2 separate regions of the Homo sapiens genome follow, and region 1 is linked to region 2. Evidence: promoter capture Hi-C in 16 types of primary human blood cells and fetal thymus (Javierre and others, 2016). All regions are on one chromosome and are shown on one strand. Each heading gives the region's core, a stretch centred on a gene start or on the middle of the fragment in contact. The rest is flanking DNA. Distances are from core to core; before and after follow the strand shown. Region 1 holds the start of KLHL6-AS1 (KLHL6 antisense RNA 1). Region 2 holds the start of MAP6D1 (MAP6 domain containing 1).

Evidence for each region. Contacts are between HindIII fragments. The CHiCAGO score rates a contact against its expected background, and 5 or more counts as called.
Region 1: the fragment with the promoter of KLHL6-AS1 here is called in contact with the fragment with the promoter of MAP6D1 in region 2 in 8 of 17 cell types (erythroblasts, megakaryocytes, neutrophils and 5 more); the score reaches 13.5 in erythroblasts.

The regions. Positions count from the first base shown.
Region 1 is chr3:183,546,885-183,550,332 of GRCh38, forward strand. KLHL6-AS1 (KLHL6 antisense RNA 1) reads left to right here and starts at 1,851. Exons shown (of 2, transcript NR_046687.1): 1 at 1,851-2,079. The region is part of intron 1 of KLHL6 (kelch like family member 6); the gene reads right to left. The HindIII fragment of the contact is 1,687 bases long and covers 1,524-3,210 here.
Region 2 is chr3:183,823,026-183,826,831 of GRCh38, forward strand. MAP6D1 (MAP6 domain containing 1) reads right to left here and starts at 2,552. Exons shown (of 3, transcript NM_024871.4): 1 at 2,122-2,552. The coding sequence starts at 2,522. It also overlaps a transcript of PARL not described here. RefSeq lists silencers at 2,130-2,259, 2,280-2,349, 2,410-2,759. The HindIII fragment of the contact is 2,997 bases long and covers 221-3,217 here.

The DNA of each region.
Region 1 (3,448 bases), core at 601-3,100, 280 kb before region 2:
CGGACTGAAACCCCAGTGCCATAAGTCTTTTTTTTTTTTTTTTTTGACGGAATCTCTCACTCTGTCGTCCAGGTTGGAATGCAGTGGCATGATCGCAGCTCTCTGCAACCTCCGCCGTCCGGGTTCAATCGATTCTCCGGCCTCAGCCTCCTGAGTAGCTGGGACTACAGGCACACGCCACCGTGCCTGGCTAATTTTTATATTTTTTAGTAGAGACGGTGTTTCACCATGTTGGCCAGGCTGGTCTTGAACTCTTGACCTCAGGTGATCCACCAGCTTCAGCCTCCCAAAGTGCTGGGATTACAGGAGTAAGCCACTGCACCCGACCTCAGAGTCTTTATTTATTCCACTTAGGACAACTATTTGTATACTCACTGCTGAAGTACTAATGCATTAGACTAAAGAGCGCTGGAGGTGCTATATAACATTTAAGATATGCTAATATCCAAAGAATTCTGAATGGCAAAGCACATCTGGCTCCCAGATTTTTGGGTAAGGGATTATGGGGCTTTCTGATAATGTTAACAGTTTTCATTTTGGTGTTATTTGTCTACCTTTTCTCACATGCATATCTTTCCATAGTTTACATGCAATTTTGCATCTTGCTTTGCCCCCTGTTTTCATTATAATATTTTTCCTACGGTGCTCCATGCTTTTCATAATGACTATTTATTATATTGCTACCAATTTCAACAGAGGCATAATATGAAAATCATTCTCTCACTGTGGACATTTAGGTTGCTTCCAGTATTTTGTTTTTATACGTGACGTGGTAATCTTTGCATTAAGCATTTTTTCCCAGTTTGGAATATGGACGGCCTACATTTTTTCAGGCACTTTGCTGGATTCTTTTTATTTCATTCAGTCTTCATAATATCAAGTAGATAGCATGGTGTCCATTTCATCCTTGGGGGAGCTCACTTTGATGGGAAGAGTGGTTTCCCCATGATGTCTAAACTGAAAACAGGCCTCTTCACAGAGAACAGAAATGTGGCTAACAGGTCATTTCCTATGACCCCTCAGCTCCCCAAGACTCTTTTGCTAGTGTAGGCTACATAAGCTGAAAATGAGGAGGAAATGTAAAAATCAGAGCCTCCTTGTGCTCATACACACATGCACAGGCAGGATACTGTTGGAACATTCATTCCAGTTTATGTCTGGGGGCTGAGCTGACAGACCCCCATAGCAGCAAGGACCCAGCATGCCTTAGGACATCAGTCTGGATCAAAGGGTTAAAAAAGAGACAAGGAAGCAGGGTCAGGGTGTGCAAGGTGAAAAGACAGTGCGCTCTGAAAATATATGGGACCTCACTGTGGCTAGAACCAGAAACTGGTTCTCACCATTTGGGAAGCCCAGCTCACTGCAAAATATGGCACACTCTGTAAGTGACAGTGACCTGTGAGGGCAGCCCTGCTGTGATTCCCAGGGTTGGCAGAGGGAGGGGAGTCCTAGTGATGAGGGGAGGGGTTATCAGGCTTTTCTCTGCCCTGTCTCATGACTGGCCCTTCCTTCATGCATAGAAAAGCTTCCAGGCTGAGGCTGAGTCATTAGCAATCTCCTTTGTTGATGCTGCTGCCTGGAATCCTTGTCTGGATTCCTGTCTCACTCCTGTCTTGTACCGCAGTCTCTAGGTCTGGTTCCTTGAGGCTATGTTGAGAGGACTTTACCCGCCAGCTACAAAAATCAGGCATAAGGCCAGGAATGGGAAGGTTATTGTGAGCACAATCTATGCACTTGTTAATCATTATTACATATTAACCAATTACTGCATGGCAGAAAAGTGGGGCAAGAGACTACTCTTAAGCCACATGTAGATGTTGTAATCCTGAGCTTTGTCTCCATAATGGGGTAAGATGTCAGAAAAGAGTCAGAAAGCCCAGGTGATAGAATAAGTGCCAAGAACATATACACCATGGAATACTGTGCAGCCATAAAAAGGAATGAGTTCATGTCCTTTGCAGGGACATGGATGAAGCTGGAAACCATCATTCTCAGCAAACTAACACAGCAACAGAAAACCAAACACCGCATGTTCTCACTCATAAGTGGGAGTTGAACAATGAGAACACATGGACACAGGTAGGGGAACAACACAACCCGTGGCCTGTCGGCGGGTGGGGGACAAGGGGAGGGAGAGCATTAGGAAAAATACTTAATGCATTCAGGGCCTAAAACCTAGATGATGGGTTGATAGGTGCAGCAAACCACCATGGCACGTGTATACCTATGTAACAAACCCGCGCATTCTGCACATGTATCCCAGAACTTAAAGTAAAATTTAAACAAATTTTAAAAAAGAGAATAAGTGCCAAGAAAAACAAGAATGAGTTAAGGCCATGTAGGTCTGTATTAAAAATCTGGCTAACAGCAAATGTGTTGAGGATTGCTGCTGCCACAGTGGGTACACTTGAGAACTCAAGTGAAGCCAATGATTGTAACACCAGGGTCAGGCCCTATATTTTCCACTTTTAATATTTTCCAATATTGTGGATCAGAACCAATATGATAGTAAATATTTCAGCATTATATATCTATAATCCCTTATCTGTAGTTTCAAAATTCCCAAAGTGCTGATAAATGTAAAGTTTTTTGTAACTTATTTCATGGCTAAATCCAACTTGAATGGCACTCGTCAGGTCGGGACACCTGAGTCTTGCTCTGTTGCCCCGGCTGGAGTGCAGTGGCATGATCTTGGCTCACTGCAACCTCCGCCTCCCAGATTCAAGCAATTCTCCTGCTTCAGCCTCCCGAGTAGCTGGGACTACAGGCATGTGCCACCACGCCCAGCTAATTTTTTGTATTTTTAGTAGAGATGGGGTTTCACCATGTTAGTGCTTGACTCTTAAATAGGAACAGATATCCAAAGACTACCAGATATTTAAGTATAGCCTCTAAAATAAAAGACAGAGGCCAGGTGTGGTGGCTCATGCTTGTAATCCTAGCACTTTGGGAGGCCGGGTCAGGAGGATCCCTTGAGCCCAGGAGTTTGAAACTATCTGGGCAACATAGGGAGACCTTGTCTCTAGGAAATAAATAAATACATACATAAAATAGAATAAAAGAGACAAAAACAAAGAGAAAAATACAGTGAAAACAAACAGTAAAAAACAAACAAAAACAGAAGAGTGGTTTTTTAAAAAATATAAACCTCAAAGAGATTAAGTGAAAATATGACCTATACAAAACAAGAACAGGATGTTATAAAAAGGAAGCTTCATACATAAAACAAGAAAAAAGTCTTGGAAGTTAAAAACTGAGATTCTCAACAGGTTGGAAGATAAAATTGAGAAAAATCTTCCAGAAAGTAAAACAGAAAGATAAGAGGATGGACAACAGGAGAGAGAAGATGAGAAAGCTAGAGACTGTTCTAGAAGTCCACATCTACTGAATAAGTGATCCAGAAATAGTAAACAAGGAAAACAGTAACCATGTAATTACCAGGCAGTAA
Region 2 (3,806 bases), core at 1,302-3,801:
TGCTCTGTTGCCTAGGTGGAGTGCAGTGGCACAAACACTGCTCACTGCAGCCTCGACCTCGCAGGCTTGAGGGATCCTCCCACCTCAGCCTCCCAAGTAGCTGGAATCACAGGCAGGCACCACCACGCCCAGCTAATTTTCTATTTTTTGTAGAGGCAGGGTCTCACTATGTTGCCCAGGCTGGTCTTGAACTCCTGGGCTCAAGTGATCCTCCCACCTAAGCTTCCCAAAGTGCTGGGATTACAGGTGTGAGCCACCATGCCTGGCTGGCTTAGCTTTTAGAAGGAGTCCCTCATCCGGGCATGGTGGCTCATGCCTGTAATCCCAGCACTTTGGGAGGCCGAGGCAGGCGGATCATGAGGTCAGGAGTTCAAGACCTGCCTGACCAACATGGTGAAACCCCATCTCTACTAAAAATACAAAAAATTAGCTGGGCGTGATGGCACACACCTATAATCCCAGCTACTCAGGAAGCTGAGGCAGAAGAATTGCTTGAACCTAGGAGGCGGAGGTTACAGTGAGCCAAGATGGCGCCACTGCTCTCCAGCCTGAGCGACAGAGCGAGACTCTGTCTCAAAAAAGAAAAAAATCAAAAATAAAAATAAAAATAAAAATTAACTGGGCATGGTGGCACAAGCCTGTAATCCCAGCTACTCGGGAGGCTGAGGCAGGAGAATTGCTGGAACCAGGGAGGCAGACATTGCAGTGAGCCGAGATTGCACCACTGCACTCCAGCCTGGGTGACAGAGCGAGACTCCGTCTCCAAAAAAAAAAGTTAAAAAGATAGGCAATACATGGACATGTTACAAAGGCAAAAAAAGCAATCGTTCAAAAGAGCAGAGTGAAAAGCCTTCCACCCCTGGCAGTCCCTATCAAGTTCCTCTCCCTAACGGTACCATCTCCTCAGACATCCATCAGGGCATCCTGTGCTTATTTGAGCATATGTGTGTATATTAATACCCCTTTTTAAAACACAAATAGCCTACGTGCTGCTGGGCACCTTGCTTTTTTGGTATGCGTATATTTAAGATCCGCTGGGTTTCAGTATCCCATTTCATGGCTGTGCTATAATTAACCAGTTCCCTACATCAGCAGGACAAGGGGTTTGTTGTACAATGTCTCCACCTATCTTACGCTCCTGAGCTCCCACCCTACCTTGTAGGATACCTGTAGGGAAAATTCCTAGTAGTGAAATAGCTGCATCAAAGGAAAAGTAGTGCTTTTAATAGTCCCACATTAGAAACACCCTAAATAGTCAATGGTAAGGAAGTAGATAAATAAAACTTGAAGATATAAAGGCATATCCATAGGATAAAATACTGCACGTTTATTAAAATTCATGTTGCAGAACATGTAGTAACACGGACAGACTTCTACAACTGGTGAAAAAAGTGTACAGTAAGAATCTAACCACGTAAAAATATATCAGTGCATATGCACCAAATGCACATTACGGAGTAGAAAGAACTCGTCTGGGGAGGGATCAAGGAGATACGTATTTTGTTGTAATTTCTGTACTTTCCCATTTTTCTACAGTATGAATTACTTTTGTGGTAAGAGGAAAAAAGGGAGAAAGCCCTCGGCTGTCCAGGAGCAGAGCTGGGCTGGGAGGTGGGGAGGGCCCGCGGACCCGTTCTCCCTGAAAGCCCCTGTCACAGTGGGACTCTGAAGGGCTCACCCACACGGGACCCTGCGCTCGGTCCTCACCACCAACGCCCGCACACTAGGCAGTGACCGGAGAGAGCTGGGGGACATGGCCTGCGCGCACCCCTCGCACGGCTAGGCCCGGCGGTGGGAGTTAAAGGGAGGCCGGTTCCAACTCGGCTGAAGGCAGGCCATTCTGACGGCTGCCCCCAGGAGGGCGGCTGCGAGGGCAGCGGTGCGCTCCCGGCACGGGGGTGCTCGAGCACTGAGTCCGGGCATGGAGCAGCGAAGGCGCCGCCTGCAGTGCCCACGGACCAAACGGGGGTGACCTCTGAGGCCGCCGGCAGCTCCGAGGTCGCGTGGGATCCGGGCTCCAGGCGCCTCCGCTCTGCCGCCCACCCCATCCCTCTGGCTCCGGGCCTCCGCGTCCTCCCACCACAGGGTGGGGACTCGTTGCGGTCCCTACCCAGCCCATACCTGTACGACGTGGTCACTGCTGCAGCCGCGTCCGCGTCGCCGATGGGCAGCACGTAGACCCCGCGGGCGCCGGGCGCAGGTGGCGCGGAGGACTGCGCGGAGGATTTGCCCCTGCGGCCGCCCGCCCCCGGTCCGCGCCCCGGCGGCGGATCCTTGGGCCCGGCGGGCGTGGTCCACAAGCCGAAGTCCCGCTGGTACTGAGTGAGCGGCACGTCCCGGCCGGAATCCCGGGCGCCCGCGGGAGGCTGGCCCCTGCGCGAGGCGGCGCCGCCCGTGCCCGGCTCCTCGCTGTCGAGGTCCGAGTAGCCGTGCAGAGTGAGCGGCACCGCCACGTCGGAGCGGTCCAGCTGGTTCCAGCGCCGCGCCAGGCAGCACAGGCGGCTGATACAGGGCCACGCCATGCCAGCCCCGGCGCCCGCCGCCCCGCTCCCGGCGCGCGGCGCTCCCGGCCGCGCCTCCTGCGCCCAGCGTCCCCGCCCCCGCGGCCCGCCCCGCGCCGCCGCAGCACCGCCCCCCGGCACGAGGGTGGGCGTCCCGGGAGGGGGCGCACTCGGCGGCAGCCCCACTTGGCCGGGGCCGGCTGCGCACGGCTGGAGCTGGAGGGAGCGCGGATGGGGGAAAGGCTGCACCGTCGCCAGGGGGCACCGGAAACCGCCTGCATTCATTTACAAGTGTCCATCTCGAAGAATGCCTCAGAATTGAATCCAAAGTTCCCTCAGTGTCATCTTATAAATGGCCCCGGCTTCGCAGAGGCCAAGGGCCCGATGGTCGCAGCTGGGAGCAGTCCGCCAGCCGGGAGGTTCTCCATGTGGCCTCGGGACGCCCAGCGACTGCTGCATTTGTGCCAGGCTGCACCGCATGGACTCCGCGGGCACAGGGGCAGGTGCAGCAATGAGGGTGTCAGAGAAGACTCGGGGCCCTGCTTCCCGGAGAACACGTGTTTCAGTCAGCCTGTGAGTCGCCGCCTATTTGCCTTTAGGATGCTAGTCTACATTTGTGACAACCAATCCACTTTTCATTAGAATTGGCATTAGCCACCAATCGACCTTTCCCTGGGTTCTGAAATTCCTAATTTTAAAGCATGGCCATTTGCAAAAGCTTTAGTTTGATAAAGCGGCCACAGAACTGGCCACAAGGCTATCAAGTTCCTTTCCTCCTGTGCATGCATGGCTGTTTTCAGGCAGAGCTGTTGAGGGATCCTCCAGCGTAAAGGCAGGTCTGTTCAATGCAGGACACCGTCTCAAACAACTCCCTGACCACCCACAAACGCTTTTCTGAATATTTGACACATGCTCTCGGTATACACTGCAGACCAATTACTAATAACACTACTGAGACAGCATTAATTACCCAGAGCTCCATTTCAAGGTTGTACTTGGAAGGTATCCAGTCTGCGCCTGGGAGGGGACTGCAGCACATCCCTGGCCAGTCAGAAAACAGATTCATCTCCCAAAACATTGCCTGTCTTAGCTTGAAGTTGTAGCAAAGTGACATGACGGCTGCCTAGAAGTGGCAGCAGGTCAGCTGAGCAGGCCAGGCCATGTCCCAGCAGGCAGCAGGCGAGGCGCCAGGTGTAGAGGGAGATCCTGGAAAATGACACACAGGGGCCGGGTCAGAGTGAACTCTTTGTGGACTGTCCGCCACGGCCCTGGGTTAGCCAGCCTGGCAGATGGCGCTTGGGACTA